Linked DNA regions of Homo sapiens: region 1 is linked to region 2. Evidence: promoter capture Hi-C in 16 types of primary human blood cells and fetal thymus (Javierre and others, 2016). All regions are on one chromosome and are shown on one strand. Each heading gives the region's core, a stretch centred on a gene start or on the middle of the fragment in contact. The rest is flanking DNA. Distances are from core to core; before and after follow the strand shown. Region 1 overlaps OSER1-DT (OSER1 divergent transcript). Region 2 holds the start of LINC01430 (long intergenic non-protein coding RNA 1430).

The links. Contacts are between HindIII fragments. The CHiCAGO score rates a contact against its expected background, and 5 or more counts as called.
Region 1: a fragment that was not itself captured here is called in contact with the fragment with the promoter of LINC01430 in region 2 in 2 of 17 cell types (erythroblasts and megakaryocytes); the score reaches 8.1 in erythroblasts.

Annotation. Positions count from the first base shown.
Region 1 is chr20:44,213,292-44,217,649 of GRCh38, reverse strand. OSER1-DT (OSER1 divergent transcript) reads right to left here. Exons shown (of 3, transcript NR_038339.2): 2 at 2,647-2,762. Among named protein-coding and RNA genes, the nearest start is that of OSER1-DT, 4.5 kb to the right of the region's middle. RefSeq lists a silencer at 2,340-2,429. The HindIII fragment of the contact is 6,345 bases long and covers 1-4,358 here.
Region 2 is chr20:44,449,118-44,453,363 of GRCh38, reverse strand. It overlaps LINC01430 (long intergenic non-protein coding RNA 1430), which reads left to right and starts at 2,807. Exons shown (of 3, transcript NR_109893.1): 1 at 2,807-2,827; 2 at 3,274-3,404. It overlaps LINC01620 (long intergenic non-protein coding RNA 1620), which reads left to right. Exons shown (of 3, transcript NR_132343.1): 3 at 1,191-1,380. The HindIII fragment of the contact is 11,098 bases long and covers 1-4,246 here.

The DNA of each region.
Region 1 (4,358 bases), core at 1,412-3,911, 240 kb after region 2:
CTTGATTCTATTCTAAAGGCAAGTGATCCACAAATCCCGGGTCTTCCACAGTTTTGAAGCCACAGTGAAGGGCTTCACCAACGGTAAGGAAAGAGGCCCTGCAGTCCTAGGGCTCCCTCTGCTGGTGATCAGCAGCTACCAGGAAAAGCTGCCCCTCCCCTCCTGGAGCTCTGAGGATTGACTGGAGTCTTGGAAATCAAATTGGTGCAGGCTTAATGGGAATCGGCACACAGGCGCATGGCTGAGGCATCAGAGTCCTCCTTTACCTCCTTTACTCTCCATCCTGTTAACATTTCGGGAAAGCAACTATCAAAACAATAGACCACAGTAGCTTGGGGGCTATGAAGAGAATGACAAGAAAGAGCGGCGAATTCCCGCTTCCCAACCCTTGCCTATTCCCCATCCACAAAAACAGGAGGCTGTTGTGAAAGGTCCTGCTGCTTGAATCAACTGTCAAAGGCATCAACAGTCCCCAGTCATGTTTCCAGAAAGCCAGTAGACAACTGGAATTATTTGCTGAGATGACTGACTGACTGATGGACTCACTGGCTCCTGTGGTAGGTACAGCTCCTATTCTGGTGGACTGCATGCGAAGTCCCATGGGACAACGGGGTCGGGCCATTTAACACACACAGGGGAGCAGGAGTTGAGGGAGGGAAAGTCAACATAATAGGTTTTTCTTGCCCTCCAGAAATTTAGAATCTAGCAGGAGATACAAGAAATGTACGGGTAAAGGGCTGAAAATAAGTTCAGGAGGGACCTGAAGAAGCTCCAGGTGAAATGTTACTGTGGTCGTAGAGACAGGGAGGGGACCTGAGCTGACGAAGTGGACGGGTGGTAGACAGAGGAGCTGGAGGCTCTTCAGTTGTAGGGAGGGGCAAAAAACAGATGCCCAGAGAAGCCAACAGGCCCCCAGTGGACTCTCATGGTAGAAGAAAGTGGGGAGGATCACCACCATTGAGGCAGGTCCTTAGGGCTGTGGCTCCAGGAACTCCATTTTGTCAGGGTACCCAGAGCCAAACAAATTCTGCGGGATGGACTATCTGTTGACTGAAGATCTATAAGCCAGGTGCAGTGTATTCATTTGCAGAAAGGACTATGTCCTTCCCACAACTGGAATGCTTGTGTTTGCCTTCCAGGGCTCCCTTGTTTCTTTCCTCTGATTATCTCCCACCCTCTCCTTAAGGGTCCTGACCTTTCCTGTGGCTTCAATGGCCACCTGTATGCAGACTCCACAGTCTTTATTTCCAGTCCCCACCTCCCATGTGAGCTTCAGAACCATATATCTGCATGCCTGCTAGACACCTCCACGCGGCTGCCCCACGGATCTCTCAGGTTCACTCTGTCCAAACTGAACTAATTTAGAGATATATCAGCACAGAGAGGCAGTGACAGCACAGACTCTACCAAGCTGCCTAGGTTCAAATTCTAGCTCTGCCACTTGTTAGCTGTGTGACCTTGGTGAGTTACTTAACTTCTCTTTGCTTCAGTTTCCTCATCTGGAAGATGAGTGTGATAATGGTAATCTCATAGAATTGTGGTGAGAATTAAAATGAGTCTTCTGATGCATAGGAAGAGCTATGAAAGTATTAGCCCTCATAGGCTGGGCATGGTAGCTCATGCCTGCAGTCCCAGCACTTTGGGAGGCTGAGGCAGGCAGATCACTTGAGGCCAGGAGTCCGAGAGCAGCCTGGCCAACATGGCAAAACGCTGTCTCCACAAACAAACAAACAAACAAAAATTAGCCAGGCATGGTGGCACACGTGGGTGACTAAGGCAGGAGAATCACTTGAATTAGGGAAGCAGAGGTTGCAGTGAGCCAAGATTGCACCACTGCACCCCAGCCTGGGCAACAGAGCAAGACTCTGTCTCAAAAAAAAGAAAAGAAAAGGAAAGAAATAAAAGAAAGTATTAGCTGTTACTATGATTCTCCATTTAAATGTTCTTCCTCTGCTCACTGTCAGCTGGGTTCAACAGAGTTTAATTGAGATGGGCACCAATATCCATTCAGTTGCTCAAACTGGAAAGCAAAGTATCATTGTCAGCTTTCTCTCACTGCCCATCCTGTTCGTAGTCAATCTCTCCCCAAGGCCTGATCTACGCAACTTTCCAATCGGCTCACTTGTTCTCCATACTTAGGGCCACCTGCCCCTTCGATCACCATCATCTCAGGCCTGGATCACCATGCCGGCTCACGCTGAAACCAGTCATCTTTCTAAAATAAATTTGGTCATTTCTTTCCATAGCTCCTACAGTTCTCAGAAGGAGAAACCTCAGGATAAGTCCCTTGCTGCAGCCTTTGGGACCTGATTCCTCCTTTCATCTGCACTTGAAACTTTTATGTTCAAAACCAAACCGTCTCACACTCCCCAAACCTAGTCTTCTTGGATTCCCTTCCTTAGTGAAGGGGGCCACCTACTGGCACGGCTCAGGCCAGACATCTGCTCAGCAGGCTGCCGAGCCCTGCTGGTCTCACCATCCTTCAGCCATGGTTCCCATTCTGGTCTTCCCTCAGATTATTTCGAGTGTCTTCTAACTGGTCTCTCTTACATTCCCCACCCTCCCCATCTACTTTCTAAGAGTCTGCTGGAATGATATAAATTGCTACTAAAAATACAAAAATTAGCAGAGCATGGTGGTGCTCACCTGTAATCCCAGCTACTGAGGAGGCTGAGGCACGAGAATCAGTCGAACCTGGGGGCGGAGGTTACAGTGAGCCAAGATTGTGCCATTTCACTCCAGCCTGGGTGACAGAGCGAGATCTCAAAAAAAAAAAAAAGGTTTCAATAGTTTCTGGCACACAACACTCAATGCCTTCCTTTAACAAGTAATTATTGAGAGCCAACTATGTGCCACATAGAGTTCAGGCCTTGGGGATACACTGTATTTTCATCAATTCTAAGACACCATCATTTTAAAGACTCACCACTTACTGTAGGAACAAGTAAGAAAGAAAAAAATACTACCAATTAAACCAGGACACACTGGCGATTATAAGACACATTCAGATTTTCTAACCGCTATTAATAAATTGTGGGAAAATGTGCATCTTTGATTAAAAAAAATAGTGACTAAAAAAAAGACACAAAGTCCCTGTCCTCGGGTAGCTTCTATTCTAGTGAGGGGACCAAAAAATAACTATACATTGTCAGGTAGTGACAAGTGCTATGATAAAGCAGGGTAAAGGGATACACAGTGAAGGGGGTGCTGGGGAAGCCAAGGAAGACCCCCCTGGGGAGCTGATATGAGCAGAGACTTTGAATGACAAGATGAACTGTGAGTAAACAATGCTCCAGGAGGGGAAATACATACAAAAGACCTGAGAGGGAAATATGCCTGCTGGGTTCAAATATATGCAAAGAAAGAGTGGCTGGAACAGTCCTAGGCCCTGGGCAGCCAATTTCCTCAAACCCAGTGGTATTTTCCAGGTGAAAGCAGGTATCCCTGGTCTAGCTGGGTACATACAGGAGGTGAAGGTGGGGAGGCTAAGGAAAGCAGTGTAACTCAGCGGTCAGCAGGGTGCTATAGTCAGACTGCCTAGATTGGAATCCCCGTTCTACCACTTACAAACTATGTAACCTTGGACAAGTTATCTAACTATTCTGAGCCTAGTTTCCTCAGCTGTAAAACAGACATCATAGAAGTACATTTCACAAATTGGTTATGAAGATTACATGAGCTAACATCTTGTAAATCAAGACAAATAATCATTATCACTATCTTCTATCCCAAAGTCATTTTAATTTAATTTTATTTTTTTTTTTGAGACAAGGTCTTGCTCTGTAGCCCAGGCTGGAGTGCCGTGGCATGATCTCAGCTCACTGCAACCTCCACCTCCTGGGTTCAAGGGCTTCTCATGCCTCAGCCTCCAAGTAGCTAGGATTACAGGTGTGTGCCCACCACTCCCAGCTAATTTTTGTATATTTATTTATTTATTTTTCAGTAGAGATGGGGTTTCACCATGTTAGCCAGGCTGGTCTCGAACTCTTGACTTCAGGTGATCCACCTGCCTCAGCCTCCCAAAGTGTTGGGATTACAGGCGTGAGCCACCACGCCTGGCCTACCCTAAGTCATTTAAAAAAGTATATCGAGGTAAGAAATAAATTAATTTGAGTCTTAAAACATAAGAACAGAATATTTTCCAGATTACCAACTGGTAGGATGGCAGCCACATGGTTAGGCAAATAATTTTCTTTATTACTTTGGACTTGGCTTCTCCAAAGTTATTTTTTAAGAGAAACTATTATCTTCCTATATAAATTGTTCTTGCAGTATAAATTCATGGAATTAAGTCTCTCTTACTAAAGCATGTACAAGACACTTGTAGCAAGAAAGAAGCACTGTTAGAGGAATTTTAC
Region 2 (4,246 bases), core at 1,558-4,057:
GTGGCTCACGCCTGTAATCCCAGCACTTTGGGAGGCCGAGGTGGGCAGATCTCTTGAAGTCAGGAGTTTGAAACCAGCCTGGCCAAAATGGTGAAACTCCATCTCTACTAAAAATACAAAAATTAGCTGCGCATAGCGGTGCATGCTTGTAATCTCAGCTACTTGGGAGGAGGCTGAGGCTAAAGAATCACTTGAGGCCGGGAGGTAGAGGTTGCAGTGAGCTAAGATCATGTCACGGCACTCCAGCCTGGGTGACAGAGCCGAGACTTCCTCTCAAAAAATAAAAAATAAAAATATATTCAAATATATAGCACAGGTCAAATTAAATATGGCAACTCTGGACCCAGATGGCCTGGAATCAAATCCTGGCTTTACTACTCAGGAGTTGTGTGAACTCAGGCAATTACAGAACCTTTCTGTGCGATTGTATAAAGAGAGATGTTAATATTTACCTTGCTGGGTTCTTATAAAGATTAAATGAGCTAATACTTGTGAAGTCAGTGCCTGGCACAAAATAAGTATTCAACATATATTGTTTGTTTATTTATTTATTTATTTTGAGATGGAGTCTCGCTCTGTTGCCCAGGCTGGAGTGCAGTGGCACGATCTTGGCTCACTGCAACCTCTGCCCGCTGGGTTGAAGCGATTCTCCTGCCTCAGCCTCCCAAGTAGGTAGAATTACAGGCATCTGCCACCACTCCCAGCTAATTTTTGTGTTTTTAGTAGAGACGGGGTTTCGCCATGTTGGCCAGGCTGGTCTCATACTCCTGACCTCAAGTGATTTGCCCGAGCCAGCCTCCCTAAGTGCTGGGATTACAGGCGTGAGCCACTGTGTCGGGCAGCTAGCTATTTATTATCTTTAAAATTAGTATGGGCAAGCTGATCATTTGACCTGCTGGGGTCACCAGCCATCCTAATCCGCTGAGACTGAGGGAGAGTTTCAGGACACAGGACTTTCAGAGCTAAAACTAGACAAGTCCTGGGCAAAAGAGGATGAGTTGGTCACCCTAGCCCTGCCTGATGGTAATATTTCCCTCCAGTTTAACAGACTGACCTTTTACTTGTATTAAATTACAGGTTTGATGTTGAAAATGATATTTGCACTACGTATTGTAGAACCCCTCTCAAGCATCCCTATGATATAATTTCTGCAAAACACTAATCTTGCTTATATTTTCCTCACGTTACAGATTGGGAAAGTGAGGCCCAGGGGTGCAAACCAGTCCAATATTAGCGGCAGAGCTCTTCCCTAGACCCGTCTTGAAGCTGCTGCCCCATCATTTCCTCCAGGTAGCTGGTGGATACTGTTTATCTGGTGCTCACTATGCCCTAGGTAACACTGTAAGTGATTTTCATTAAATTTAATCTCATTCAATCTTAGGAGGTGGGTTCTACCATTATAACCATTTTAGAGACGGGATGCTCATAGTTGTCTTCTGTCCCACTCACCCACCCATACCCCTGGGACTAGAATTCATTCATTTGGTACATCTTTGCCTGATTGTGGTTTCCTTGGAACTTTTGTTACAGGGAAACTCACCAGGGTTTCCTGGGTCTTGTTTAGCCATTGAGCCTAACCTTCTGTCTGTTTTAAGACTTTTTTTTGGGGGGGGTGGGGGGGACAGAGTCTTGCTCTGTCACCCAGGTTGGAGTGCAGTGGCGCAATCTCAGCCCACTGCAACCTCCACCTCCCAGATTCAAGCAGTTCTCCCTGCCTCAGCCTCCCGAGTAGTGGCTTGGGATTACAGGCGCTCACCACCATGCCCAGATAATTTTTTTTTTTTTTGGTATTTTTAGTAGAGACAGGGTTTCACCATGTTGGCCAGTCTGGTTTCAAACTCCTGACCTCAGGTGATCCACCCACCTTGGCCTCCCAAAATGCTGGGATTACAGGCGTGAGCCACTGAGCCTGGCCTTGTTTTAAGATATTTTTAAAGGACCTTTTGTTTCAATTGGCAAATGTCTGCTGCTCTCCTACTACTGGGGCTACGTGGTGACTGACAAAGAGACTTTGCCCTCAAGGACTCGAGGCTGCTGGGGAACCCCGCTCACCAGGGTCTCTCTCCACTGCACTATGGCCAGCTTGAGGGCAAGGATGGGGTCTTTTCATCTCTGTGTCACTAAGAGGAGATCAACAGCAGGTGTGGAAACTGGCAGATCACACCACAAAGCAGAGAGGCCAGCAGGAGTCCAGAATCCCAGCCATGAACTGTCGGGCTTCAGGCAGGGAGCAGTGGGAGACCCAAAGTCTCCGTGCTATTGATATTTGGGGCTGGCTAATTCTGTTGTGGGGGATGTCCTGTGCGGAGTAGGATGGTTAGCACTATCTGTTGCCTCTGCCAGTAGCATCTTCTCTACCAGTCATGACAACCTAAAGTGTCTCCAGACATCACCGAATGTCCCCTGGGGGCAAAGTCACCCCAGATTGTGAACCACTGGCTTAACTGAAGCAAACTTAATGAAGGAAGTGTTTGCAGAGGTGAGGCATGCAGGGACTGGCAACAGTGGGGAGCTGTTAGCACCCCAAGGCCAAAGAGGTGAGAGAGAGAATGGTGTTACTTGACCCAGAGATAGCTGGAGCCATATAAGTGAGGCTAAGACAGGAGTTAAGACCATGGAGAAATTCAGCCACTGCCAAAATTAAGGCAAAACAGGGAGGGAGCTGGGGGTGGCATAAACATGCCCAGTTCTCCCTCATCCTGCCCTTTTATCTCTGCCGATTCCTCCCCTTGGCTGAATGTATTGTGATGTCAGAAGGCACAGGTGCCTCCAGGCCACAGAGCAGGACAGACAGGGTTGGAGATTGGACCACTCGTGTGTGGATGAGGTGGGTAAGCAGAGAAGAACCATCACAGGGAGGCAGGAACAGGCCCCAGAAGACAGGACATTTGTGTACTTCTTGGAGGACGTGTACTTCCCCAGTTGGAGAAAGCTGGGAAACAGTATCTCACCAGCAGGAAGAGCAGGCATGAAGCCATGGAGCTCTGAGACAGCCTGGCTCCCTGCATTGTTTATTTAATTGTGATTGTTTGTTTGATTGATTCTGCTCTGTGTGCATGTGGTGAAAGTAAAACATTTCAAAAGGTACAAAAGGGCATAAAATGAGAAGTAGGTCTTCCTCCCACCCCGACCCCAGCTACCCAGCCCCCCAACACCCACCCCGAAAGCCATCTCACTCTCCGGTCTCTCATCGCCTTCCGGAAATAGTTGGTGCACATGCTAGCTTGTGTCACTTAAACTCCTAATTTGATTTAATTTCACGGGTGTTTACAGAGCCCCTACTGTGTGCAAAGAAATGAACTGAGCTCTCTGGCCTCACACCCTAAGCCCAACCCTGATCCACTAAGCACTGGCAGCTTCAGGCCCACCACTGCTGGCCTCCCATCTCTTTCTCCAAGCAACGGGTAAGCCTGTCACAGTTATGTTGTTCAATTTATTTTATTTTATTTTATTTTATTTTTTGAGGTGGAGTCTTGTTCTGTCACCCAGGCTGGAGTGCAGTGTAGCTATCTCAGCTCACTGCAACCTCTGTCTCCCGGGTTCAAGCGATTCTCCCACTGCAGCCTCCCGAATAGCTGGGATTACAGGCACCCGCCACTACGCCCTGCTAATTTTTGTGTTTTTAGTAGAGATGGGGTTTGACCATGTTGGCCAGGCTGGTCTTAAACTCCTGGCCTCAAGTGATCCACCTGTCTCGGCCTCCCAAAGTGCTGGGATTACAGGTGTGAGCCACCATGCCCGGCTTCAATGGATGTTTTGTGGATTGGACTGAATTAAAACTGAACCATTGGTGAGAAGCAAATTAGAATGCAGGAGACACATAAACCTTGGGTGTGGTTCAGGAGACCATGTGTTTTGGGGAGAGGAGTGAGGGTTCTGTCTCCAAAGACTTGCTCTTGCTGGAGCCAATGGACAGTTAGTTGTCTAAGAAGGGAATGCCTATAGTGTGACCTAGAGGGGGCGCTAGAGTGTGAGCAGGTTGGGACTTGATCTGGCTTAGATCAGTCCAGGGAAGACCAGATCTTGCCTGGCTACCCCCAGCTGGTGTCTGTAGCCCTTGGGGGAGTTTAAGACCAGGAAAGGGGAGTTTCTGGCCAGCTGCAGAAATGGGGAATTCCACAAACAACATGTAAACTTGTCGGTACCCGGAAGCAAACAACCAAATCTGGGTATCAGATGCCCAGGCAGAAGCCGGGAGGCCAGAGCAGCCCAGGTCTCCAGGAGCAGACAAGGACCAGGCTCTTCC